Linked DNA regions of Homo sapiens: region 2 is linked to region 1. Evidence: promoter capture Hi-C in human tissues and cell types (Jung and others, 2019). All regions are on one chromosome and are shown on one strand. The core of a region is centred on a gene start or on the middle of the fragment in contact, and the rest is flanking DNA. Distances in the headings are between cores, read along the strand shown. Region 1 holds the start of SLC30A1 (solute carrier family 30 member 1). Region 2 overlaps HHAT (hedgehog acyltransferase).

Region 1 (5,635 bases), core at 1,356-3,855:
TCTATGGGGGTGGAGTCCTGCAACCATTCTGCTATACTTTATGGTATATACAAAGGAAAACATAAAATTGAATGCTAACACCAAAATTAAATGCAGCTAGGAATAAGTCTACTAATACAAAATACCTGATTTGACACTCGGGCACTCTCTAGTCACTCTTTGTCACTGAGGCCAATTGCTTGAGAATAAAACCAATTTTAACTTTTAAACTTTTATTATGAATATAAAAGTTTCTTGGTAGGGGGGTTTAAAAACTGACAAATCAACAATAAAAATCAATAATCACAGAGATTATTAGAAAAATTGAAACTAAATGACTACCTGCCCTACTAACTTTTAAATCAAAAGTATTGATCTTTTCAAAAAGTATTGATCAAAAGTATTCAAAAAGATAAAAAGTATTGATCTTTTGAAATTACACACCAGAGAAACTTAATTTTCTTTGGAATAACACCTTGCCGAGTGGAGTGAGAGGAAAACCAATTACTTATTAAACCTTTCCAATGTACAACTTGAATTTCACTAACTTCATATTCTGCACTCGAAAAGGAAAATTATGTAGCATAATTTATAATGATACAAGGTAAATAAACGTAAGTGAAGGAAATAAGACCAAATTGTTAAGCACCATTGAGCTTGGGTAGTAGGACACTGGTTGAGTCATTTCCATCTCCTTTCTTTCAACATTTATTTTCAAATTTCCTTCAAGAGCACTTAATGTTAAATATAAAAAGCATCCACTAAAAATATAAGATGAATAAATTACCATCACTTTTAGTTCAGTACGATTATGAAAAGTCCTGGGAAAATGTTAAACATGCCCAGACAGGTCCTAAATCTATGATTTCCAGGATTAGGGATCAATTAGCTGAAGCATACACTGCTGTTCATAAAAGAAACCTTTAACCAGGGTTTACACGCTCTGAATGCATATTATGAAACGGAGTTCAATGGGCATAAGAACTACTTTGGCAGAGCAAGGTTTCCAGCACCCAACTACTGGGGACGAATTGGGGATTCTCTCCGTTTCCCAAGAGGGCCAAGGAATTGAATTGGGAAGCATTTCTGACGCTGTTATAACCATAACCAGACAAGTCTCCAGCAAAGTTGCTGCAGCCTGTAAAGACAGCCAAGTGCGGGTGTGGACTGCAGCGGGATGATGATCACCTCCTGACCCTTTTTCTTAGGGTCTGACCCACAGCCCCCACCTACAAATATGCCAGACGCGTCGCCGGCTCCTTGCACCCGACTGAGGGGGTTCTGATTTCCTGGAGCAGCAGCGGGGCGTGTGCAGGACGGGGAGGGAGCAGGCAGGGGCGGCGCGGCGCAGGCCCGCTCGGGCAGCAGGGGGCGTGCGGGCCACCCCGCCGAAGGCCAGGCGAGGCTCTGGGCACCCCAAACCCAACCACCTGCGGCAGCGACTTTCCCGGCTCACCTGCGGGGTCCAATTTCAGCCCGTTGGAGTTGCTGGTATTGGCCACCAGGGTGTTGGTCTCCTCCTGGTCGGGACCCTGCTCGCCCGGGGCCACGTTGATGTCGCTGCTCCCGGGGCGGGTGCTCTTAACGCGAGGCCCCTTGGGGAGGCCGTGGCCGTGGCCGTGACCCCCGTGCGAGTGGCCGTGGCCGGAGTCCTGGCTGAAGCCGCTGTGATGGTGGAAGAGGCAGAGCCCCAGCACGTTGACCAGCAGCCCGGCCACGCCGACCCCAAGGACCACCAGCGGCTGCTGCATCTCGTGCGGCTCGATGAAGCGCTCGATGGCCTCCAGCAGGATGGCGAAACAGAGGCCAGTCAGGAAGATGGCGTTCACCAGAGCCCCCATTACCTCGGCTCGGATCCAGCCGAACGTGTTCTTCTGGGTGGCGTGGGTCCGCCGGGCGAAGCGCTCGGCCACCAGCGCCACCACCAGCGCCAGCACGTCCGACAGCATGTGGAAGGAGTCGGAGAGCATCGCCAGCGACGAGGTCACCCGGCTCACCACCACCTCCAGCACCATGAACATGAAGGTCAGCGCCAGCATGCACAGCAGCCGGCCCCGGTTCCGACCCCAACACCCCATGGCTGCGGCTGCGGGGCCCGCCGAGCCCGGCCCGGAGACTGGTGCAGCGGCGGCGTTGGCGGGACGCGGAGGGTCGGCGACCGCGACACGGAGGAGCGCCCGAGTCGGGCCGTTCGGGAAACCGCTGAGGGGCCCCCGCGGCCGCACGGGGACAAGCCCGGGTCAAGCCGCCGAGCCCCGCGCCTGTGGGCGTTCTCCGCCAGCCGGCGGCGCCGCGCCGCGCAGCTCCTCAGGCGTCCGTCCTCAGAGCCGGCGCCGAGGCCCGGCTCAGCCTCAGCAGCCCCCACACCCAGGCGGCGGCGGTGGCGGGGAGCTGGGCTCCCGGAGCCGGGGTACCAAGAGCCGCAGCCGGAGCAGGAGCAGGAGGGCGGCGGGCGAGGGCGGCAGGAGAGGGCGACGGGCAGCTTCGCGCCGAGAAAGCTCCGAGCATCTGAGGGCTCTGCTTGCTGGTCTCCTCTGCGGCGGCTGGACTGAGGAGCGGATGGCTGAGGAGCTAGAGAGGCGGCGGCCACGGCAGCTGCACTCGGCCCGGTCTCGGGCGCCTTCTTCGCCCCCCCGCCTTTGCAGACGGTTTACAAAAAAACTTTGCTTTGCACTCGGAACCCCCGTTTTCACACGGACCCGAGCGTGACAAGGCCTTGCCGCCCCGCCCACCAGGCCCGGCACGCTTCCCCATTGGTCAGGACCCCCTCACGACAGCCTCGGCGTCCCGCCCAGCCACGCTCACTATTGGATGGAGCCTCGGAGGGGCGGGAAGGGGGCGGGGTCGCGGCTCCAACAGATAGGGGCGGGGCCTTTTCCTCCCGGAGCCGGGCGTGGGCCGGGGGGCCGTGGCCGGGTGCAGCGGCGGGCGAATTGGGGGCGCGGGCCGCGTGCAGCGGGAGGGGGAGGGGCTGGCCGGGTCCCCTCGGGTGTGGCGGAGTCCTGGCCTGCGGACCATCGCAACTCCCAGCACACCTGCGGGGGCCGGGCTGCAAAGTCTGCAAACAGACTTTGATCCTCCGAGCCCAGTCCACGTGGGGGCGGGCCGCGCGGCGGCTGTGTGACAGCTCGGCGGCGGGGGAGGGGCCGGAGGGGAGCCCCTGAGCGCGGGGCCCTCGAGTACTCGGTCCTGTCGGAGGAGGCCGACAGACGCATAAACAAGTGCGACTGTAACTTGGGACTCTGCTGGACGCCGAGCTGAGGAGTTAGTCCTCCCGAAGGTCTGCTAGGGGCGTGGACCGAATCTTTGTACATGTTTTGGGAAAGCCAGTTTCTCCTATCACCATCAACCCCTGGAGACCTTGTGTGAACTCAGGTGTCTGTCACTGATTATCTAAGGACAGTTCAGGGTACAGACTTCAGGCAGGAGAAACCTGGGCTCTGCTCCTTGCCTTGTCAATAGCCAGCTGTGTGGCTTTGAGCAAGTCACCTAATCTCTCTAGACCTGTTTCCCCATCTATAAAGGACTGGACAAATGCAACTCTGAAGATCCCCGTCTGACTCCAAAATTCTAAGGCTCTATGATTTAACATTTATTTATAGACTACACACGGTGGAATCTTGTGCTGGTTGCTATGGGGAGGTGGAGGGGCAGTAAGAATACAAAGGAACGAGTTTCTGTCCAGGTGGAGGTAAAATATAAACACGACATTTTAAAATTACGATGGAATACTCTTGATAAATTGTGCTATTTTAGACTGAATACATAAGCACTGTGTTGTGGGTGGAGATGAGTTGATCTGGAAAGGAACAGCTTGCCCATCTAAGGTGGGGTGGTGGCTGGAATCAGAGTGGCTTAAGCTGGACCTGAAAGGCCTCACCACAGCCCCTGCGCAGCAGAAGGACCTCCCCACCCACTGCCCTAGATTACTACTGGACAAATGCAGTGCCAGCTATTGCCTGGAGATGTGTATACAAGGCTTGTTTGGAGCTGTTATTTTGCATTGTTTTGGTATTCTTGTAATTCCTATGAAATTTTTTTCACTTGTATGTAGTGTGTTTCTAGTCTCCCCATCCAGACTGGAGAGCTGGATCCTCACCTTCTGTTTCTGTTTTGCTGGAATATAAAGAATGGAGGAAAATTTTCAAGACATTATTAAGGAAAAAATGATAGAATTTGATGATTAATTGGGTATTGGGAAGGAGGAAGCTAGGTAGGAGAACAAAGATAGTTATAATGTTTCTAACCTGACAAGGAAAATACTGCCTTAAACAGGTGAGGAAGTTGGGAAGGGAGGCCAAGAAGCTGATTTTTAGGAGAAAATATGAACTCCATTTTTAATGTGCTTAATTTGAAGTGAAGTCTGGGTTTGGGCAGTGCTAAAGGGTGGATTAATGGGTTTAGGACTTCCATAACTTCCTCTCCTTTGATATGGATGAGTGACAGTTTTCTGATCATCTGTAAACACAGCTTCAAACATCCTATCAACTAGCCCCTCATATACAGAAATTCGGAAGCCACTTATGGGTCAAGATATCCTCATGGAAATGGCCTAGAGGCAGTTTGAAGACCATTTTGCTTTCTACTAAGGGCTGCTGTGCCTCGCTTTATTTAAAAAATACATTCCTCCAAATGCGAAGATTTGATACCCAAAGAAGAACCAATAAGAAGATGTAAAAGTCAGTGATGCTTGCAAACACAATAGCAATCCTTCAATAACTAAACAGACTAAATTGGGAGATTTTTAGACCCATATAAAAACAGGTTCAACTCATAGCCGCTTCTGAAAACCTACTTTGTGCCTGCATTTCAGCCATTTCCCAGACAATGTGCTTTATTCCCTCCTGGTGGGTGGTTGGGGGCGGGGCAGAGGGGGCAGGGAGTACATTTTCCAGGTTCTAGAGAAGTTATAATCATGTTCTCTGGAGAGAGTAATATTTACCACACAGCAGAACACTTCAGTCAGACTTTGTTTCCCTCTAACATTGTGTAGGCAAAAGACTTTGGTACCTCAACTCGAGCTTTTTCCCTTTTCATCTGGTTGTCCTAGTAGAGTGTCAACACAGGCAGGAATAGATTAAAATGAAGGGACACTATACTGTTATTCACCAACACCCCTGGAGGCTGTGGCCCTGGGTTGAGTAAGACGGCTTGGCTTTCTCTTCTTAATGTTTGAGAAATCTCCTGATAACTTGCTTAGTATCCAAACTGACTAAACCCAGCATACTTTAAAGATGAGAGAATAATGCTCTTTTTGGAAAAGAGACTGCCAATTTGAATGAAAGTCAAGGGCTTCAGACAAACTGCAATCTCAAAGCCCTCTGGACCTCTCCTTGCTTTTAATGAAAGTTTAAAATGATCTTGTAAGATTCTCGTAAAAACTGCTAAACACAAACGTACTTCTGAATTTTGGTAATCAAAAATCATGAGTGTATAAAGCTGTACCTTGCTTGGAAAGATAAAATAACAAAACCCTGTGAAAACCACATTATATTTGACTTTGGCTGACAGTAAATCACTTCTAATGTTCAATCTTAAAACTGATGGGGAAATCTCTCAAAACATAAATGAATAATTATTACAAATATGAAGTGAAATCTCTACCAACAACATGAAGGCCAAGGTTTGATTTCTCAGCTGCTCTCAAAGGAACAGG
Region 2 (5,635 bases), core at 1,181-3,680, 1.2 Mb before region 1:
GCCATGCCTAAGTATGTTCAACTGATACAATGTTGAGCCTTCTTGGTTCCTCATCTCACTTTCTAATTCAGGAAAAAGTGCTACTTACCCACATTGTAGAAGTAGGTCACTGGAAAAATCGTCTTTACTCTGAACTTTTTTAGGGCATTCATGTCTGGAGCAAACGTGCTGCCTAGAATAGACTAGAGGCTCCAAGTGTATTTGTTCAGTGAAATGTCTCTGGTGGGCATCTGCGTGGCTACTCTCCTTGGGCACAGAGCAGGCATCTCATTCACTGCTGTCTCTATCAGCAGTAGTGGGGTTGTCACGTGGTTGGGGACAGCAGACTGATTTTAACAGCCTTAGTCAAATGGAATCTCTCAGCAAATCCACAGCAGGGACTCAACAGAATACCCCTTCTTCCCCCCAACTCTACCAAATTAGAATATCTTGAAGTCATATGGAAATATTGGGGTGGTGATAGTGATCCGCTATGCTGGCTGACCTCGCCCCTGGTGCTCTGCAGTACTGTGGCTAATCCACAGCTGTTGCATTAGGTTGGTGCCTTATGGTTTAGTAGACATAAAACTTTTTGTCTCTGTTTACTTTTTTTTTTTTTTTTAATAAGAGATGGAGTCTTGGTCTGTCACCCAGGCTGGAGTGCAGTGGCGCAATCTCGGCTCACTGCAACCTCTGCCTCCCAGGTTCAAGCAATTCTTCTGTCTTAGCCTCCTGAGTAGCTGGGACTACAGGTGCATGCCACCATGCCTGGCTAATTTTTGTATTTTTAGTACAGACAGGGTTTTACCATGCTAGTCAAGCTGGTCTCGAATTCCTGACCTGGGGTAATCCACTCCCCTCAGCCTCTCAAAGTGCTGGGATTACAGGCATGAGCCACCACGCCCGGCCCCTCTCTGTTTACATTTAATGTGAAAATGCAATGTACCATGCATCAGAAGGCTTGTGTGATAGGCCTTGAACGAATTGATGCCTCTGCCTAAAAGGATGCCATATATTTTTCTGGCCATGTCAATTTAATGCAATATTCGGAATAAAAACTATTGAATTCCCATCATGGAAAATCCCGGTGATAGAAGGAAGTCACCTGTTTTTTTTTTTTTTTTTTTTAAAAAAAAGCACCTGGGAGGGGAAGTCTTTGACTATTTCAGTTTACCACCTATTCGTTCTTATTTAAATGTTTTATTTCTTCTTGTACCCATCTTGACATTTTATAGCTTTCTAGGAAATCTATATACTTTATGTAGGTTTTCAGTTTGATTAGTATATTGTGGTTCTTAACTCTTACTTAAAAATTTTTTGGTGTTTCATTATTTTATATTTTATCTGCATCATCTTCACTCCCTTCATTTCCTCTTTCCACTTCTCCCTCCCTTCTATTTTTTCTTTCTTTGATCAACGGTGCCAGAGATCTTATTAATCTTTTCAGCATTTGGCTTTATTTTCTCAGTTGTTTCTTTTTGTTTTCTAACTCATTGATTTTTGCCCTTATCTCATTATTTCCTTCCTTATTGTTTCTTTAGGTTTGGTCTGTTCCTTTTTATTTCATTGTCATGAGTTGAATGCTTAGCTCATTTACTTTGTAAAGAATGTGTTTGGATTGTTGATTGTTTTTCTCAGAAAGATTTCTAGAAGAGGAGTTATAGAGTAAAACCACACAACCATTTTTCAGGTGCTTAATAGATGAACCCAGGCTGTTCTCAGGAAGGCTGGGCCAATTAACGCTTCCAAAGGAGGAGATCCATTTTTCTGTACTACTCTCAGCAAGTTGAGTGCTCTTCAATCCATCTCAAGTGTATTTTAGTATATGATGTGATATTTTTTCACAAATAGATAACTAAACATAATGTCTTTTTTTTTTTTTTTTTTTTTTTTTTTGAGACAGAATCTTGCTCTGTTACCCAGGCTGGAGTACAGTGGCACGATCTCTGCTCACTGTAACCTCTGCCTCCTGGATTCAAGCAATTCTCATGCCTCTGCTTCCTGAGTAGCTGGGATTACAGGTGTGTACCACCACACCCTGCTAATTTTTGTATTTTTAGTAAAGACAGGGTTTCTCCATGTTAGTCAGGCTGGTCTCAAACTCCTTGGCCACCCAAAGTGCCGGGATTACTGGTGATTATGATAATTATGATGCAATCTTGATCATGTACTGAGTTCTTTTGTTAAAATTTATTTTTATTTTTTATTTTATAAAAAGAGAGACAAGCTCTCTCTATGTTGCTCAGACTGGTCTCAAACTCCTGGACTCAAGCGATCTTCCTGCCTCGGCCTCCCAAAGTGCTGAGATTACATACATGAACAAGGGTGCCTGGCCTCACATATTAAATTCTTATATTCTGTTTAATTGATTTCTCAATCAATTCTTACATCAATACTGTGCCGTTTTAATTATTTTTGATTTACAAAATGCCTAAGTATCTGGAGTAAGTTATTAGTTATTGGTTCTTTGTTTTCAGATCTTTCTTAGGCTGTTCTTACTGGCTTATTCTTCCAGATATATATTTGAAATTGGCTACTTTCAAAAAATCATTAGGGTTTTAATTAGAATTGTAATAAACTTATAAATTAATTTGTAAATAATTGATATTTTTATAATGTGTCTTTCTATCCAATAATATATTTTTTCTTTGCTTATTCAAAATCTTTCATCACTTCCCTTAATGAAGGTTTGTGGTTGTCTTCATAATAGATTCTGCTAAAACTTAAGATTATTTCTGAGTCTTTTCCTTTCTCCTTTTGTGATTGGGATATTTTACAAATTTTCTAGCTGATTATTTCTGATCTACACTAAAGGTATTTATTTTGGTTTATGTATTTTATATTTCAGCAATTTATTGAATTCTCTTATGTTCCATTGGCTTGATTTTCCTTGTCCTTCTATTTAGATAATACCATCCACAGATAATGATAGTAGTTTTGCTTCATTTGTTTTTGCTTTGCTAGGACATCTAGAACAATACAATAGTTGAATGTTAACCTGTTTTAATTCTGACTTTAATGGAAATCTCTGTATAGTGAAAGGTTGAACAAGCTTTACTTACTTGTTTTTAAAAACTCATGTTAAGGAATCCTAGCCCCTTTAAATTGGCAATAAGTGTTGAATTTTATTTGTTTTTAAAGTACCTATTCCTTTTTTGACCTATTGATACTATATTTTAAAGTCATCAGTTTTCCAGAGGCAAACCATACGGATTCATTCCTATTACAAACCTACCGTGACCATGGTATTTTTAAACATACTGCTTTTTTCCCTAGGGTTAAAAAATATATGGATTTCTAAGTGAGAGTGGTTGGCCTGTAATTTTGTTTTGTCTCATCCCCAAATTTCAATCTTGATATCCTGTTAGCTTTATAAAACAACTGGAGAGGATTCCATTTTAAAAAATATTATGGAACTGTTAAAGTAGTATATGAAATGTCTGCATCAGTGTCTGATGTTATTCACTTCTAAGTTTGTCTAGGCATGAAATCTCTTTGGGAGTAGATTCATTGAAAACTTTTCAGTACCTTTCAGGGTTATTGGTATGTTTTCATTCTTAAGTCAGTTTGAGCAATTCATATTTTTCTATTTCATTATTATTATTTTTGAGACAGTGTCTCATCCTGTTGCTCAGGCTGGAGTGTAGTGGCTCAGTCCTAGCTCGCTGCAAACTCAAGTGCTTGGGCTCAAGTGATCCTCCAACCTCGGCCTCCTAAGTAGCTAGGACTACAGGCACACAGTACCACACTTGCACACTTGCTTGGCTATTTTTTTTTTTTTTTGGAGACAGGGTCTTGCTATGTTGCCCAGGCTGGTCTTAAACCCCTGGCCTCAAGCCAAATCCCAAAGTCCTGGGATTATAGGCATGAGCCACTATGCCTGGCCTGTGAAAATTATTTTCTAATGAAAAGCAGCTACCCTAGAACCTTCTGATTTTGCAGAGCCCAGGCACATCTTCTTTTATGAAGCAGCTATGTTCCTGAAAAGTTGCATATTAATGACATTTTTATAAATGAAATTGTGCTTCCCGTTGATTTGCGTTTTCATGTCACAGGCTTTTTTTTTCATTTTTTTAATATTCAGTGATATATCTGTAGTTAATGTTTCTTTAAATAAACTCTAGCACCGGGGAGCCCTCATATTTAAAGAGCTTTTGCTTTTTCTGGTGCGAAGTATTTATTTGAATCACTACTCCCTGTTTCTTTGTTTTTATATAGTTGTTCTTAAAGTGGGATACAGCTAGTATAACGGAACACATTCACCTTCTACCTTTTGTTTATTTCTTTATAAACCTGTGGCCTTCATTATTACTAAGCTCGATTTATGAAGAAAGGATACAGAAGCTCATTTATAGATTAGTTCTTTCTTTTACATTCTTCATGCAACATGCTAACCTCTTACGGGTCATGGGCTTTGTTAGGAAGTAATTTTTCCCACTGACTTCTGTGATTAGAGGAACGTGGTTGCAAGATGATCAGTAACTCTGAAGAACCCAGTCCAGGGTGGGAAAACAGAGGCCACTGGTCCTGTCCTTGAACCAGGTGTCCTTGCTCTTGGAACCAGGTGAGCTGACTGAGTATGTCTGGGGCCACCAGGGGCCCTTCAGTTTACAAGGCTTTGTGAAAAGACCCAATTGAACTTCTCCTGTAGGAGCTGGGAACTGGACAGCCTGTCTTGAAGCATTAACAGTGAGTGTTGTGGAACAACCAAGGCTCCAAACATTCTGTTTGGTGATGCTTCACATTATATTTGGCTGTGGTTTCCATTGTTATCTATGGCCAGGGTCTTAGGAAACAGTTGAATCACTGTCTTCCTATTGGAATGGATCCCAAGTCTTGTAGCCTATCCCTTCCTCCTTGCACTGGCATTTTCCTCCTGGGTTAACACTGGTCCTTCAGGTAGGTGTTGGGGGTTCAGGAGCACTACCTCAAAACATGGCACCTTGGCATTTGAGAAAACAGCAGAAGCAGGAAAGTTACTCCCAACCTTTCTCCCCTGAAGCAGGTCATAAAACTCTCATGTGAGAGGTGCCTTCTCTATACACAAAAGAAGGGAACATCCTTATCTCAGAAGATGAAGGATCACACAGAAGAAATAGGTCTTGCTAAGTTCCCCTCAGTTTATTACCATTAGAACATACTCACTTTATCCAAATCTATTTCTCCATGACTGTCCAATCTTCATCAAACCTAGCATTAAAATACACAAATTTGGCTGGGTACGGTGGCTCACGCCTATAATCCCAGCACTTTGGGAGGCCGAGGCGGGTGGATAATGAGGTCAGGAGATCAAGACCATCCTGGCTAACATGGTGAAACCCCGTCTCTACTAAAAATACAAAAATTAGCCGGGTGTGGTGGCGGGCGCCTGTAGTCCCAGCTACTTGGGAGGCTGAGGCAGGAGAATGGCGTGAACCCGGGAGGTGGAGCTTGCGGTGAGCCGAGTTCGCACCACTGCACTCCAGCCTGGGCGACAGAGTGAGACTCCATCTCAAAAAATAAAATAAAATAAAATTTAGCCATTTCTTAGTCTTCATTTCCTTACTAAGGCTCCTGTATCATGTGAAACTTACATTAACTACATTTGTATGCTCTTCTCTTGTTAATGTGCCTTTTGTTATAGGGGCCTCAGTCATGAACCTAAGAAAGTTGGAGG

The links. Contacts are between HindIII fragments. The study calls those that stand out against the background at their distance.
Region 2: a fragment that was not itself captured here is called in contact with the fragment with the promoter of SLC30A1 in region 1 in 1 of the 25 tissues and cell types used here (hippocampus).

The regions. Positions count from the first base shown.
Region 1 is chr1:211,576,556-211,582,190 of GRCh38, forward strand. SLC30A1 (solute carrier family 30 member 1) reads right to left here and starts at 2,606. Exons shown (of 2, transcript NM_021194.3): 1 at 1,436-2,606. The coding sequence starts at 2,057. RefSeq lists silencers at 1,236-1,585, 2,086-2,395, 2,636-3,195 and enhancers at 1,696-1,805, 1,778-2,279, 2,280-2,779. The HindIII fragment of the contact is 26,870 bases long and covers 1-5,635 here.
Region 2 is chr1:210,352,348-210,357,982 of GRCh38, forward strand. The region is part of intron 2 of HHAT (hedgehog acyltransferase); the gene reads left to right. Among named protein-coding and RNA genes, the nearest start is that of HHAT, 26 kb to the left of the region's middle. The HindIII fragment of the contact is 5,250 bases long and covers 1-5,055 here.